Linked DNA regions of Homo sapiens: region 2 is linked to region 1. Evidence: promoter capture Hi-C in human tissues and cell types (Jung and others, 2019). All regions are on one chromosome and are shown on one strand. Each heading gives the region's core, a stretch centred on a gene start or on the middle of the fragment in contact. The rest is flanking DNA. Distances are from core to core; before and after follow the strand shown. Region 1 holds the start of SRP68 (signal recognition particle 68). Region 2 overlaps RNF157 (ring finger protein 157).

Region 1 (6,169 bases), core at 2,475-4,974:
GCGGAGGCGCCTGAGGCTCTAGCAGACAGCCTGGAGAAGACATGTTGGGCAAGGGACAGTTAATTTCTCAGGGGATTCCTGAGAGAATGCGAGCTTTGTGGATCCCACCAGCGCGCTCGGAACCAACGCACTTCGCGCTCAGTGGCTACAGGAGGTGTGGGGGCAGTCTGGCCTCGCCTCTCTGTTTTTCCAGAGGATGGAGAGGGGAAATACCCGGATTTCCTCCCCAGGAACCATCCCAGTGTCCTTTCAAGCTCCACCTGAGTCCCGCGCTCTCCCGAATGTGCGTCTCTCGCTCTCCTCTGGCTGGGGAGGAAGAACCCCAGGGCACGCTCCTCTCCCGGCCCCGACTTGTTTTGGATTTTATTTTGTTTTGTTTTGTTTGGAGGCGAGAGGCAGAGTGGGCTGGGACTGAGCTAGGGACCTTTAGGCACGCTCGCTGGGACTCCGGAGTGGATCCTTGCAAAGGACCCAAGATCCACAGCCTGGACCTGAGCCAGCTGCACCAACCAACCAAACCGTGGCTTGGAGGCGAGCGCAGTGGAGGCGCCTGAAGTTGGCTGCAGGAGACAGACGGTCACTTCACGCACCCGATCCCTGGCTGGCGACTCTGAGCGAGTTACTTAGGAACTCAACTCTTCTGTATATTGGGCACTTTGTCCTATCCCACCCTCACGGAGGGCATTAAGCTCAAGCGAGATGAACGCGCACAAACGCGTCGTACTGGGAAACGCTGCGCGTTGTCAGGCACGGGCGGCGCTGGAGAGCCACATTCTCCAGGCTTCCAGGCCCCAGGACGCATCTAACCGAGGGACACCACGGTCCCCCATTCTTATTCCTCTTTTTCCTCCTCCGCGCCCGCTTGTCTTCCACTGCCTTCTTAGTGTCCTGTCCCACTCTGCGCGTCCCTTCTTGGTCCCCAGTCCCGCCTCCCGCTCCATCCCCCGCGTGGATGCCCATCTCCCAGGGAGGCCAAGGCGCTGGCTCACCTGTCCAGGGAGACGGCGGCCAGCGTGAAGCTGCTGGCGTGCATGGTGAGGAAGATGAGGAAGTGCACCGCCTTGCACAGCAGCGAGCCGAACACCCAGCCGTCCAGGGTGTAGATGGTGGCCTGGAAGGGCACGCAGCACAGGATGAAACACAGGTCGGCCACGCCCAGGTTAAGGATGAACAGGTTGGTAGTGCTGACCGCCTGGCCGCCGCGCAGCAGCACCGCCAGCACCAGCGTGTTGCCCACGGTGCCCACGAGGAAGATGAGCGCGAAGAGCAGGGGCACGATGACCGCCTCGGGGTGCCAGCCTCCCCCGCCGCCCGCCTGGCTCGCGTTCCCGGCCCCTGGGCAGCCCGAGACGTTCATGGTGCCGCTGACCCCGAGGCTGCCCGGGCTCCTGCAGCCGTCTGGGTCTCCGCGAGCGGGAAGCTCCCGGGGCTGCGGCCGCTGCAACTCCTAGTGCGACTCTGCCGGGCTGAAGGCGGAGGGAGCCTTGCCTCATCTGGGGCGGGGATGGGGGTGCGCTGGGGTCAGGAGGAGGAGCAAGAGACAGGAGGGCGAGGTTGTCCCCAGCAGCGGCCGGCGGCGCTGGGGGAAGGGCTGCGGAGTGGTCCCGGCGCGCATTCCACGGCGCAGGCGGAGAGTGGCGCTTGTACCTGCTTCCGAGCTCCAGCCCCCGCAGTCGGGGGTTCTGGGCTGACCAGGCGGACTGACTTCCCCGGCAGACGCCGGAGCGGTGGAGGGGTCGACCCCGGACCCTGCGTGTGCGCCGCGCCGCAGGGAGCACGGACCTCGCACTCCGCGCGCCTCGGCGCTTCCCTGCAGCCTGGCAGGGGTGCAGGATATCCCGGGACCGTCGAGGGGCTGGGGTGCCCTCAAAAGAGGACCCCTGGGAGATCGGGGGGAGGAAACGCGGGGCGGAGGCGGATGAGGGGCCCCGGAGTCTGGCTCTTTCGCCCAGGCTAGAGTGCAGTGGCGCGATCTCGGCTCACTGCAACCTCCGTCTCCCGGGTTCAAACGGTTCTCCTGCCTCGGCCTTCTGAGGGGCTGGGACTACAGGCGTCCGCCACAACGTCTGGCTAGTTTTTTGTATTTGTATTTGTTGAGACAGAGTCTCACTCTGTCGCCCAGGCTGGAGTGTAGTGGCATGATATCGGCTCACTGCAACCTCCGCCTCCCGGGTTCAAGCGATCCTCCTGCCTCAGCCTCCCGAGTAGCTGGGATGACGGGCGCCTGCCACCACGCCTGGCTTATTTTCGTATTTTTAGTAGAAATGGGGTTTCACCATGTTGGCCAAGCTGGTCTCAAACTCCTGACCTCAAGTGATCCGCCCACCTCGGCCTCCCAAAGTGCTGGGATTACAGGCGTAAGCCACCGAGCCCGGCCACCTTTTTCCCTTCTCTTACCCATTGAACGTTTTCCCTCCAATTCAATCCAATATACTGAGCATCTATTGTGTCAGGCTCTGTCTTTGGCTCCATGCCTCAGTTTCCTCAGCTGTAACAAGGAAATGGTAACACTTCCTTCTAAGAGGGATCTGCTGAGAAAGGAATGAGATGTATGGGAGAGTTAGTTAAATCTGAATGCATCAGATCCTTATTCTTTTTCTCCTGACCTTATTCCGTATACCTTGAGGAAATTCAAAATAGAGTTCAGGGCCGGGCGCGGTGGTTCACGCCTGTAATCCCAGCACTTTGGGAGGCCGAGGCGGGCGGATCACGAGGTCAGGAGATCGAGACCATCCTGACCAACATGGTGAAACCCCGTCTCCACTAAAAATACAAAAATTAGCGGGACGTGGTGGCAGGCGCCTGTAATCCCAGCTACTCGGGAGGCTGAGGCAGGAGAATGGCTTGAACCCAGGAGGCAGAGGTTGCAGTGAGCCGAGATCACACCATTGCACTCCAGCCTGGGCAACAAGAGCGAAACTCTATCTAAAAAAAAAAAAAAAATCCGTCATTTAATCTTCCTAACAACCACTTAAATTGGTTATCCCCATTTCATAGATGAAGGAACAGATTTACAGGGAGATTAAGTTACGTGCCCAACATGTCCCTGCCGCTAATGACGGAGCGGGGATTGGAATCCCAGGTCTCAGACTCTAGAAGGTGCAAAGCAAAAATTCATATTTTCCCATGTCTCAACACTTCTCCCTCTTTGGACTGACGGCCCCAAAGTGCAGTGGTCCACGGCCCCAAGCGGTCTGAGAAAGTCACCCCGTTAGGACACCGTCTGCTGACTGCGCAGCGCTTCCTCCGGCTTGGCGTTCTTACGGCCAGCCTCAGAGGAAAGGGCAGGCAGAGGCGGGTCCCTTACGGACGGGGTGTCCCGTTCCGGTAGGGAGGACCCCATCTCTTGAGTCCCTGGGGATGCAGACACCCCGAAATCCAGTATCTTTGGTCTCCTGCTTTCTGCTGGGCAGGACGTGAACCAGATCCCCAGTCCAGGATGCAGGACCTGGGGTCCACCTCCGGTTCTCCGCCCTTAGTGGGTGGGAGGTGGGACTGCCCCCTGAGATCTCAGCAGCCACGGTCTCACTGCGGCCTCAAGTCCCCACCTAGCCAGCCACAATTCCGGACCCGGGATGACAGGATCCCTCGCGCAGGCGCGCTCCAGCACATGGCGCCCTGCTGCAGCAAGGGCCGACGGCGGCGGAGTCCGCCGCTATCCCATCAGCCCGGCCAGGCAGGTCCAGCTCTCACCCGCCCAGGTCGTCCCGCCTCCCCTATCCCGTCTTGCTCTGCGGCGCAGGGGCAAGATGGCTGCTGAGAAGCAGGTCCCAGGCGGCGGCGGCGGCGGCGGCAGTGGCGGCGGCGGTGGCAGTGGCGGCGGCGGTAGCGGCGGTGGACGTGGTGCCGGAGGGGAAGAAAATAAAGAAAACGAACGCCCTTCGGCCGGATCGAAGGCAAACAAAGAATTTGGGGATAGCCTGAGTTTGGAGAGTATCCTAGAGTAATCGGGCCTAACTCGCAATGATTACGTGTCGAACTGGAGGGCTGGGGGCGGGAGAGGCGGCGGGTCCCGACAAGTCCTGGCAGGAGAGGCCGAGGGTTGCAGTTTCTCTCGCCCTTACCTTTTGGTGCTCAGAATTCCGGGGGGGGTCTGTCTCTCGACTAGTCTTTCCTCGTGTCCCCCTCGCCGTCCTGGCTAGGTCCGTTTCTTCCAGTGGCACTGGGATATCAGGCAGGTTTCCCCTGGTGCCCCGCAGTTGTCCAGTTGGAGGGCTTGTGACCAAGTGACACCTTGAGCACCTTGCTTTGGCACCTTGAGCCACTGAACTGGGGAGAGGAAACTGCAGTCTTGACATTTGGCTTAATACTCTTGTCTGACAGTCGTCATAGACTGAGTAGTAAAACCTACAGCTCGATACTTTGAAAGTGGAGGTAAAGATTGACTCAGGAAAAGCTTGTTGCCCATTTTGATTGTAAGTTACCGTAGTTAATATCGATTGTGTCATTTTTTTCTGATCGGTCTGTAGGCATTTTATCTTGCTGACAGTCATTCATATAAGCTGGAGGAATCGGTTTCTAGTTTCCATCAGTGTGTATCTCAACCAAGTGCTTGTGGTACTAGTTTGTGACCTTTTGAAATGAATAACAAATGGAGAAAACGTAGGCGAGTTTCTGAAATAACACATTCAACTTGACATCTTAATGTGCTTAAAGTTCTCAGGCGCTTGGAGTTAAATATTTTGAATTACTGGTAATAGTTCCAAGTAGACGCTAGCGAGCCCTGATTTTACTGAGACCTTTATATCTCTTTGTCCCGTTTTAGTAATTTAAAGAGTCCTTTTAGCGTTCACTATTTTAAAATATGTCTCTAGAGAAGTGTTGAGGAAACATTAAAACTATACCTATATAGATGAAGGTCATTGGACTTTCTAAAGATTAGTACATAATCTTAAATATTTTAAGATTATTAAAAGGAGAATCTGGCCATTCTTCTTTTGAAAGAAAAACCTTAATACTTTTATGCAAACTGTAGCCTAGCTTGGTTGACATGTGCTAATCATAGACTCTCTAAGCATCACAGCTGTTAAGGAAAGTTAGATTTGGCAGGTGTTGGAGATTATGCAAATGGAGGCTTAGTACATGTCATTTATAACCTGAATCTGAATGAATAAAATGTGGGGTCTAGGTGTTAATTGGTGTGAAGCACCCCAATTATAGTCAGCATTTAGAATCCATCAGCTTAATTTAAACTGGGTTTTGGCAGTTTCCAGTGGCCAGTAGTGCCCTCCTTTTTCAGTTTGCAAGTAGTAACAGTTCAGGCAATCAGTTTTCCTGTAGGTTAGCCCTGTCCTGTGACAAGATAGATATTGAAAATGGTTACAAAAGATCTCACCAGTGTACTAAATATTTCACAAATTTGTGTGTGTGTGTGTGTGTGTGTGTGTGTGCATGTGCATGTGTGACTGAATCTCACTCTCACCTAGGCTGGAGTGCAGTGGCGCTGTCTTGGCTCATTGCAACCTCTGCCTTCCAAGTTCAAGCGATTCTCCTGCCTCAGCCTCCCGAGTAGCTGGGATTACAGGTGCTAGCCATTGCGCCCGGCTAATTTTTTGTGTTTTTAGTAGAGACGGGGTTTCACCATGCTGGCCAGGCTGGTCTTGAACTCCTGACCTCAGGTGATACACCCGCCTCGGCCTCCCACAGTGCTGGGATTACAGGCATGAGCCACCGTACCTGGCTATATTTCACAAATGTTTAATGTGTTGTGGTTTGACACAGATATAGACTGATGGTACAGGTTTTGATTTGTTTGGATTCTTGCTATGGTAAGATTTTCCTTAATCTCGACTCTAGTTCTTCAGATTATTAAGGAATCCCAGCAGCAGCATGGTTTACGGCATGGAGATTTTCAGAGGTACAGGTTAGTATCACATACAAGATGTTTGGAAATCATTGTGGGACTTGCTTTGCTTTTGTTAATATCCTGTTTACTCTGCTATATCAGCAAATATGCTAGAAAGTCTAGAGCATTGTTTTTTTTGTTTGTTTGTTTGCTTTGTTTTTTTTTTTTTTTTTGAGATGGAGTCTCGCTCTGTCGCCAGGCTGGAGTGCAGTGGCGCAATGTTGGCTCACTGCAACCTCCACCTCCTGGGTTCCAGCGATTCTCCTGCCTCAGCCTCCTGAGTAGCTGTTTTTTTTGTTTGTTTGTTTGTTTGTTTTTTGAGAT
Region 2 (6,412 bases), core at 3,567-6,066, 150 kb before region 1:
CAGTTGTGAGCCATTGCACCTAACATGTAATATTTTTGTTTTTATTTTTATATTTTTGAGATGGAGGCTCACTCTGTTGCCTAGGCTGGAGTGCAGTAGTGCAATCTTGGCTCACTGCAGCCTCTGCCTCCCAGGTTCAAGCGATTCTTCTGCCTCAGCCTCCCAAGTAGCTGGGATTACAGATGCCCGCCACCATACCCGGCTAATTTTTGTGTTTTTGGTAGAGACAGGGTTTCACCATGTTGGCCAGGTTGGTCTCGAACTCCTGACCTCAAGTGATCTGCCCACCTTGGCCTCCCAAAGTGCTGGGATTACAGGCATGAGCCACTGCTCCCAGCCCTAATTTTTTAAATAATTAAAAATATGCTCTAGGGCAAGTTTGTACAACCCACGCCCCATGGGCTGGGCTACATGTGGCCCAGGATGGCTTTGAATGCAGCGCAACACAAATTAGTAAACTTTCTTAAAACATTATGAGTTTTTTTGCAGTTTCTTTCTTTTTTTTTTTTAAAGCTTATCAGCTATCAGTAGTGTTAGTGTATTTCAAGTGTGGCGTAAGACCATTCTTCTTTTTCCAGTGTGGCCAAGGGAAGTCAAAAGATTAGGCACCCTTGCTCTAGGGGGAAAACTTAAAAATGAAGAACAAAAGCAGCACTGTAGCATTATAGAATTGAGCTGAATATTTAGAGGTGTTTGCAGTTTTCTAGTTTTCTTCTTATTTTTGTGATCTAAAGCTTATTGTTATTGAAATGTCATGTAGATGAAGATTTTTTCAAATATATGAAAATTTACTAGGATTCCCATAGCCTATAGATTCCCATAGAATTGTAGAAGAATAGAAAATGGGTTTAATTGTCCTTTATTATATGTTGTTATAATTCATAGTGGTTTGCTAACAAATGTCACAATATCTTATTGAGGCAGACATAATTTAGGGAACCCATTGCTCAATATTTAATTTCACTGTGGTATTAGGAATATGTCCCAAAAACTTAAATTCAAAATGATTAGGCAAATTATTTAATACAATGAATTTTAAATGAGATTTTTCTTTTTTGTTCACATTATAAGGAACAAATAGTTGATTTTCCTTTGTTGAAGTCAATTTATTGATTTTGGGCTTTCGCTTCAAAAATTGCCATTGATAGGGTAGGGCTCCCTCAGTGTAATGCAAGTTCCCTTTGCATTGCCCTGAGTTCTTGTAGAGCCAGAAAGTGCTGATAGTGACTAAGATAAAGTCAGATGTTAAGGAGTAGTGTCTGGAGCTGCTCTGGCCAGTGTGGGCCTTGCCCTGTGTTATTATACTTACTTCTTTCTGATGGTGCTCTGCAAAGTTGTATATGAATTGTGTATGTGTTGAAAACACTGCATGTTCTAACATTTTTTACTGAGGTTCAGAGTTATTTTGCTTTTGTTTCCAAAAATATAAAGTTGGGCAGTGCAGTCTGTTTGGTTTTTTGTTTCATTATATTCCATATTTTATTCTGAACAGGGAGGCTGTACGTTGAACTTAGTGGTTCTTCCACTAGATATGTAAAACACAATATTTAACGTTTATGTGGAAAACAAAATGTTTTTGAGACTAAGGGGTTTGATTTACAATTCCTGTTTGTCAGAAAGAAAAAAATTTGGGTTTTATATGGTTAAGCATTTTATCATCAATTCATTATCCCTCTTTCTTTTTTCCTATTACAGTACAGGAAAAGGAAGAGTCAGGTATTGTTTATGTGTAAAGAACCTTGGCCGAGCATGGTGGCCCATGCCTGTAATCCCAGCACTTTGGGAGGCCGAGGCGGATGGATCACCTGAGGTCAGGAGTTCGAGACCAGTCTGGCCAACATGGTGAAACCCCGTCTCTACTAAAAATACAAAAATTAGCCAGGTTTGGTGGCACATGCCTGTAATCCCAGCTACTTGCAAGGCTGAGGCAGAAGAATCACTTGAACCTGGGAGGCGGATGTTGCAGCGAGCAGAGATTGGACTACTGCACTCCAGCCTGGGTGACAGAGTGAGACTACGTCTCAAAAAAAAAAAAAAAAGGCCGGGTGCGGTGGCTCACCCCTGTAATCCCAGCACTTTGGGAGGCCCAGGTGGGCGGATCACGAGGTCAGGAGATCAAAACCATCCTGGCTAACACGGTGAAACCCCGTCTCTACTAAAAATACAAAAAATTAGCCAGGCATGGTGGCGGGCGCCTGTAGTCCCAGCTACTCGGAAGGCTGAGGCAGGAGAACGGCGTGAACCCAGGAGGCGGAGCTTGCAGTGAGCCAGGATCGGGCCTCTGCACTCCAACCTGGGCAACAGAGCGAGACTCTGTCTCAAAAAAAAAAAAAGAACCTTAAACATTTGGCTCGTCTTCCACATATATATGAAATAATAGACATTACATTTACACACACACACAGTTGTTTGATTTCATTTCTCTCACACACATGCTATTCTTTGCCACTGTCAGATGGAGAGACAGGTGCAGGGTTGAGATGTGGAGTTAGCCAGACCTTCGGTTCAAACCTTGCATCTCTCGGTCTCTGCTGTTTCTTAACTGTGGGACGTTGTGTGAGTCACTGAACTCTTCTAATCCTTAGTTTCCTCAACTGAAAAATGGACGTAAGAGAATATCTTACAGATGAAAATCAGGGATAATTTTGGTAAAGTTCTGTATCTTGCTTACGATACATGCTTGGAAGTTAAAATAAAAATTCAAATGACAGCATTATAACCTGACTGTGCCAAATTCTTCCTCCCCATGTGATTTTTTAAAATTGAGGCGAAGTTCACGTAACATAAAATTATCTTAAAGTGAACGACTCAGTGGCATTTTGAACATTCACAGTGTTGCACAATCCACTACCTCTATTCTAGAACTTTTTTTTTTTTTTTTTGAGACGGGGTCTTGCTCTGTCACCCAGGCTGGAGTGCAGTGACACGATCCTCAGCTCACTGCAACTTCTGCCTCCCAGGTTCAAGCTGTTCTTGTGCCTCAGCCTCCCAAGTAGCTGGGATCACAGGCGTGTGCCACTACACCCAGCTCATTTTTGTATTTTTAGTAGAGACGGGGTTGCTTCATGTTGGCCAGGCTGGTCTCGAACTCCTGACCTTAAGTGATCCACCTGCCTCAGCCTCCCAAAAGGTGTGCGCCACTGCGCCCGGCCTCTAGAACATTTTTATCACCTCAAAATAAAACCAATTAAGCAGTTTGTCCCCACTCTCCCCTGCCCCCATCCCCTGGCAATCACCAGTCTACTCTCTCTGTGGATTTACCTATCTGGATATTTCATATACATGGAATCATACTACAGTATGTGACCTTTTGTGTTTGGCTTCTTTGTCTCAGCATACTGTTTTGGAGGTTCATTCATGTTGTAGCATGTATCAGAACTTCACTTCTTTTTATGGCTGAATAATATTCCGTTGTAAGGACATATGTCGGACACATTATACCTCACATTTTGTTTACCCATTTGTTGTTTGACATTTGTTTCCACCTTTTGATTATTATAAATAGTACTTCTGTGAACCCATATGATTTAAACATCTATTATTTCCTTGTATTTTATTTCTTATAGTTATTTTAGAAGAACCAATGAAGGAGCATGAACAATAGCTGGTACCAAGAAAGTCCTGGTTTTTGTTGATTGTATACAGTAAAATATTTGGAAATTAAAGGGTTTAATAAAATAAAGTCTGTACTTTGGATTTTCTGTTGCCATACTTTCCCCCCTTACAATATATTCTTTGAGGAAACCTGGTCATTTTTCTTGTTAAGGTTTTCTGCAGCCTGAGTTTTGCCAGTTGCCTCCTTGAACTCTCATTAATCATGTTCTGTTTTATTCCCTATAAGCTGGTGGTTAACTGGTTTCAGCAGCTTGATCAAGTTCATTTTTTTTAAAGCTTTAAAATTTGAAGCTACTTACTTTGGTAAGACTACTTTGTTGTATTTGCTGTCACTAGCGTGTATCTGGTTGTCTTTTTTGTGGGGGAGAGGTTTGGTAATGGATGATTTATTAATTTATTAAGACTTACATTCTAATCCTATCATTCCTTCTTTGTTTATTAGCTAGAATATTTCTGTAAAGAGAAACTTTCCCTCATCTACCTTTTCTTTTTGTTTTGAAATAGGGTCTCTGTTGCCCAGGCTGGAGTGCAGTGGTGCAAACACGGTTCACTGCAGCCTTGACCTACTGAGTTCAAGTAATTCTCCCGCCTCAGCCTCCTGAATAGCTAGGACCAAGGCCCTTGCCACCAAGCCGGCTAATTTTTTTTTTTTTTTTGAGACAGCATCTCACTTTATTGCCCAGGTCAGAGTACAATGGCGCAATCTCGGCTCACTACAACCTCTGCCTCCCCGGTTCAAGTGATTCTCCTGTTTCAGCCTCCTGAGTAGCTGGGATTAAAGGTGCACACTACCACACCCAGCTAATTTTTGTATTTTTAGTAGAGACAGGGTTTCACCATGTTGGCCAGGCTGGTGTCAAACTCCTGACCTCGTGATCCACCCACCTCGGCCTCCCAAAGTGTTGGGATTACAGGCGTGAGCCACTGCGCCTGGCCCAGCTAACTAAAAAAAAAAAAATAATAAATTTGTAGAGACAGTGTCTTGCCATGTTGCCTCGGCTGGTCTCAAACTTCTGGGCTCAAGGCCTTCCCAAGTGCTGGGATTACAGGTGTGAGCCATGGTACCCGGCCTCCCCTCATCTATTAATTATTCACTCACCCAGAGGTACAGTTCATGTAGGAAAGGCAAGATAAATGCTTGAGGCTTTCCCTTTAATTGCTAGTTTCCAAAATAATGAATTGGTTTACTAGCATCCTTCAAAGGTAACCTTTTTTTTTTTTTTTTTTTAGATATCATTACGAACTCATTGACTTAGACTTATTCCTTGCCCTTATTATCCTGATGAAGCTTAATATATTCCATCTTTGCTCTGCGGGAACCTCTTTAAGTCAGCTCTTGAGTCCCTTGGATATGACCCTAGTAGGTTTAGAGAGCGTCCTTGTTATCTGGTATGACAAGATGTTCTAGTCCCATCTTGTGTATTTCCTGCCACAGACTTGGAATGTGGCCTCCAAAGAGCCCTTGTTCCTGTTAGTGGGGAATGACTTTTGCAGACTTACAGGCTGGATGCTAGCGGCACCCCCTCCTACTTTGTTGGTCTATGTTTCTAGGCCTTTTCAGTGGCCCAAGCTAGGAAACATTGTTTGTAAAGATAAAATACACATCATGCATTTTTATTGATATTTCTAATACAAATTCAGGACTATATGGTTTTTGTTTAACCTTGGCTTTTTTTAACTTTCTCTCTGATTCTCAATACGCTAGGTATGATAAAATTGAAAATCACATAATTACTCATCTGCTTAATGCCACATTCTCGGAAGAAAATACTGTCACCAATAATATGATTACTGTAAACTGTTTGAGATATATTTTTCGCAGTTTTCTTTCCTATTGAGATGTACAGTTAAATTACAGTCTCTTAAAGTTCTTGGGAATAGTTTCTCTTTCTGTAGTTATTCCACTACACACACACCTAGGTTCATTTGTTTCACTTTACTTTTGATTTTTAGGGATTGCTTTACAGAAATTTTAATTTTATAATTATGTAAAATGTTTACATGGTTCCAGTGGTAGATACATAAAGCAATGCGTATTCAAAGAAATCTACCTTCTGTCTGGTCCCTTCTACTTCGTTCCCTCCCTCCTCCTATAGATAATCACTTTAAGATTATTATGATTTATCCTTACATTGCTTGTTTTAAAAATATTAATTAATATGTATATATCTTCATAGCCACTCTTCCTTACACACATGGTAGCATAATATAAATTAAGCCTATTTGTATTTATTGATATGATTGATATGTTTGGCTTAAGGCTGGCCATTTTATGTTATATTTATATGTATATAAATATATGTAAAAATTTATATAGTCTTTATGTAGTCTGTTTTGTTTGCTCTTTTTTTAAGATGTATTTTTTGGATTTAGGAAGGTTTGTATTTTTCTCTAATGGTTACCCTTATTTAATCTTTATATACTGCTGTTAAATTGTTATTATTATTATTTTTGTCTGTTAGTTTCCTACTGTGAATAATATGGATATAACTAGTAACCTCTTCACTCACCTCTCCTCTTTACTCCAGCATTTGAAGTATCTCCTTTGACTCTCACTTACACCTAAAGTTTGTCAGCAAACATATTCTGCTTTTTCTCTGCTATCCATCCCCCTTCTTTATTTTTTGAGAGCTGTACTGTATTTTCTTTGTTTTTATTTTTTATTTTTTTTTATTTTTTTGAGATGGAGTCTTGCTCTGTCACCCAGGCTGGAGTGCCGTGGTGTGATCTTGGCCCACTGCAACCTCCACTTCCCGGGTTCAAGTGATTCTTCTGCCTCAGCCTCCCGAGTAGCTGG

Evidence for each region. The method cuts DNA at HindIII sites, captures the fragments that hold promoters and counts their contacts. A contact is called where the count stands out against the background at its distance.
Region 2: a fragment that was not itself captured here is called in contact with the fragment with the promoter of SRP68 in region 1 in 4 of the 25 tissues and cell types used here (IMR-90 fibroblasts, hippocampus, lymphoblastoid cells and 1 more).

Annotation. Positions count from the first base shown.
Region 1 is chr17:76,070,072-76,076,240 of GRCh38, reverse strand. SRP68 (signal recognition particle 68) reads left to right here and starts at 3,724. Exons shown (of 16, transcript NM_014230.4): 1 at 3,724-3,933; 2 at 5,797-5,863. The coding sequence starts at 3,750. It overlaps GALR2 (galanin receptor 2), which reads right to left and starts at 1,460. Exons shown (of 2, transcript NM_003857.4): 1 at 990-1,460. The coding sequence starts at 1,357. RefSeq lists enhancers at 514-1,395, 2,782-3,609, 3,562-3,611, 3,610-4,437. The HindIII fragment of the contact is 13,843 bases long and covers 1-6,169 here.
Region 2 is chr17:76,218,817-76,225,228 of GRCh38, reverse strand. All of the region lies in intron 1 of RNF157 (ring finger protein 157), which reads left to right. Among named protein-coding and RNA genes, the nearest start is that of RNF157, 18 kb to the left of the region's middle. The HindIII fragment of the contact is 5,006 bases long and covers 2,314-6,412 here.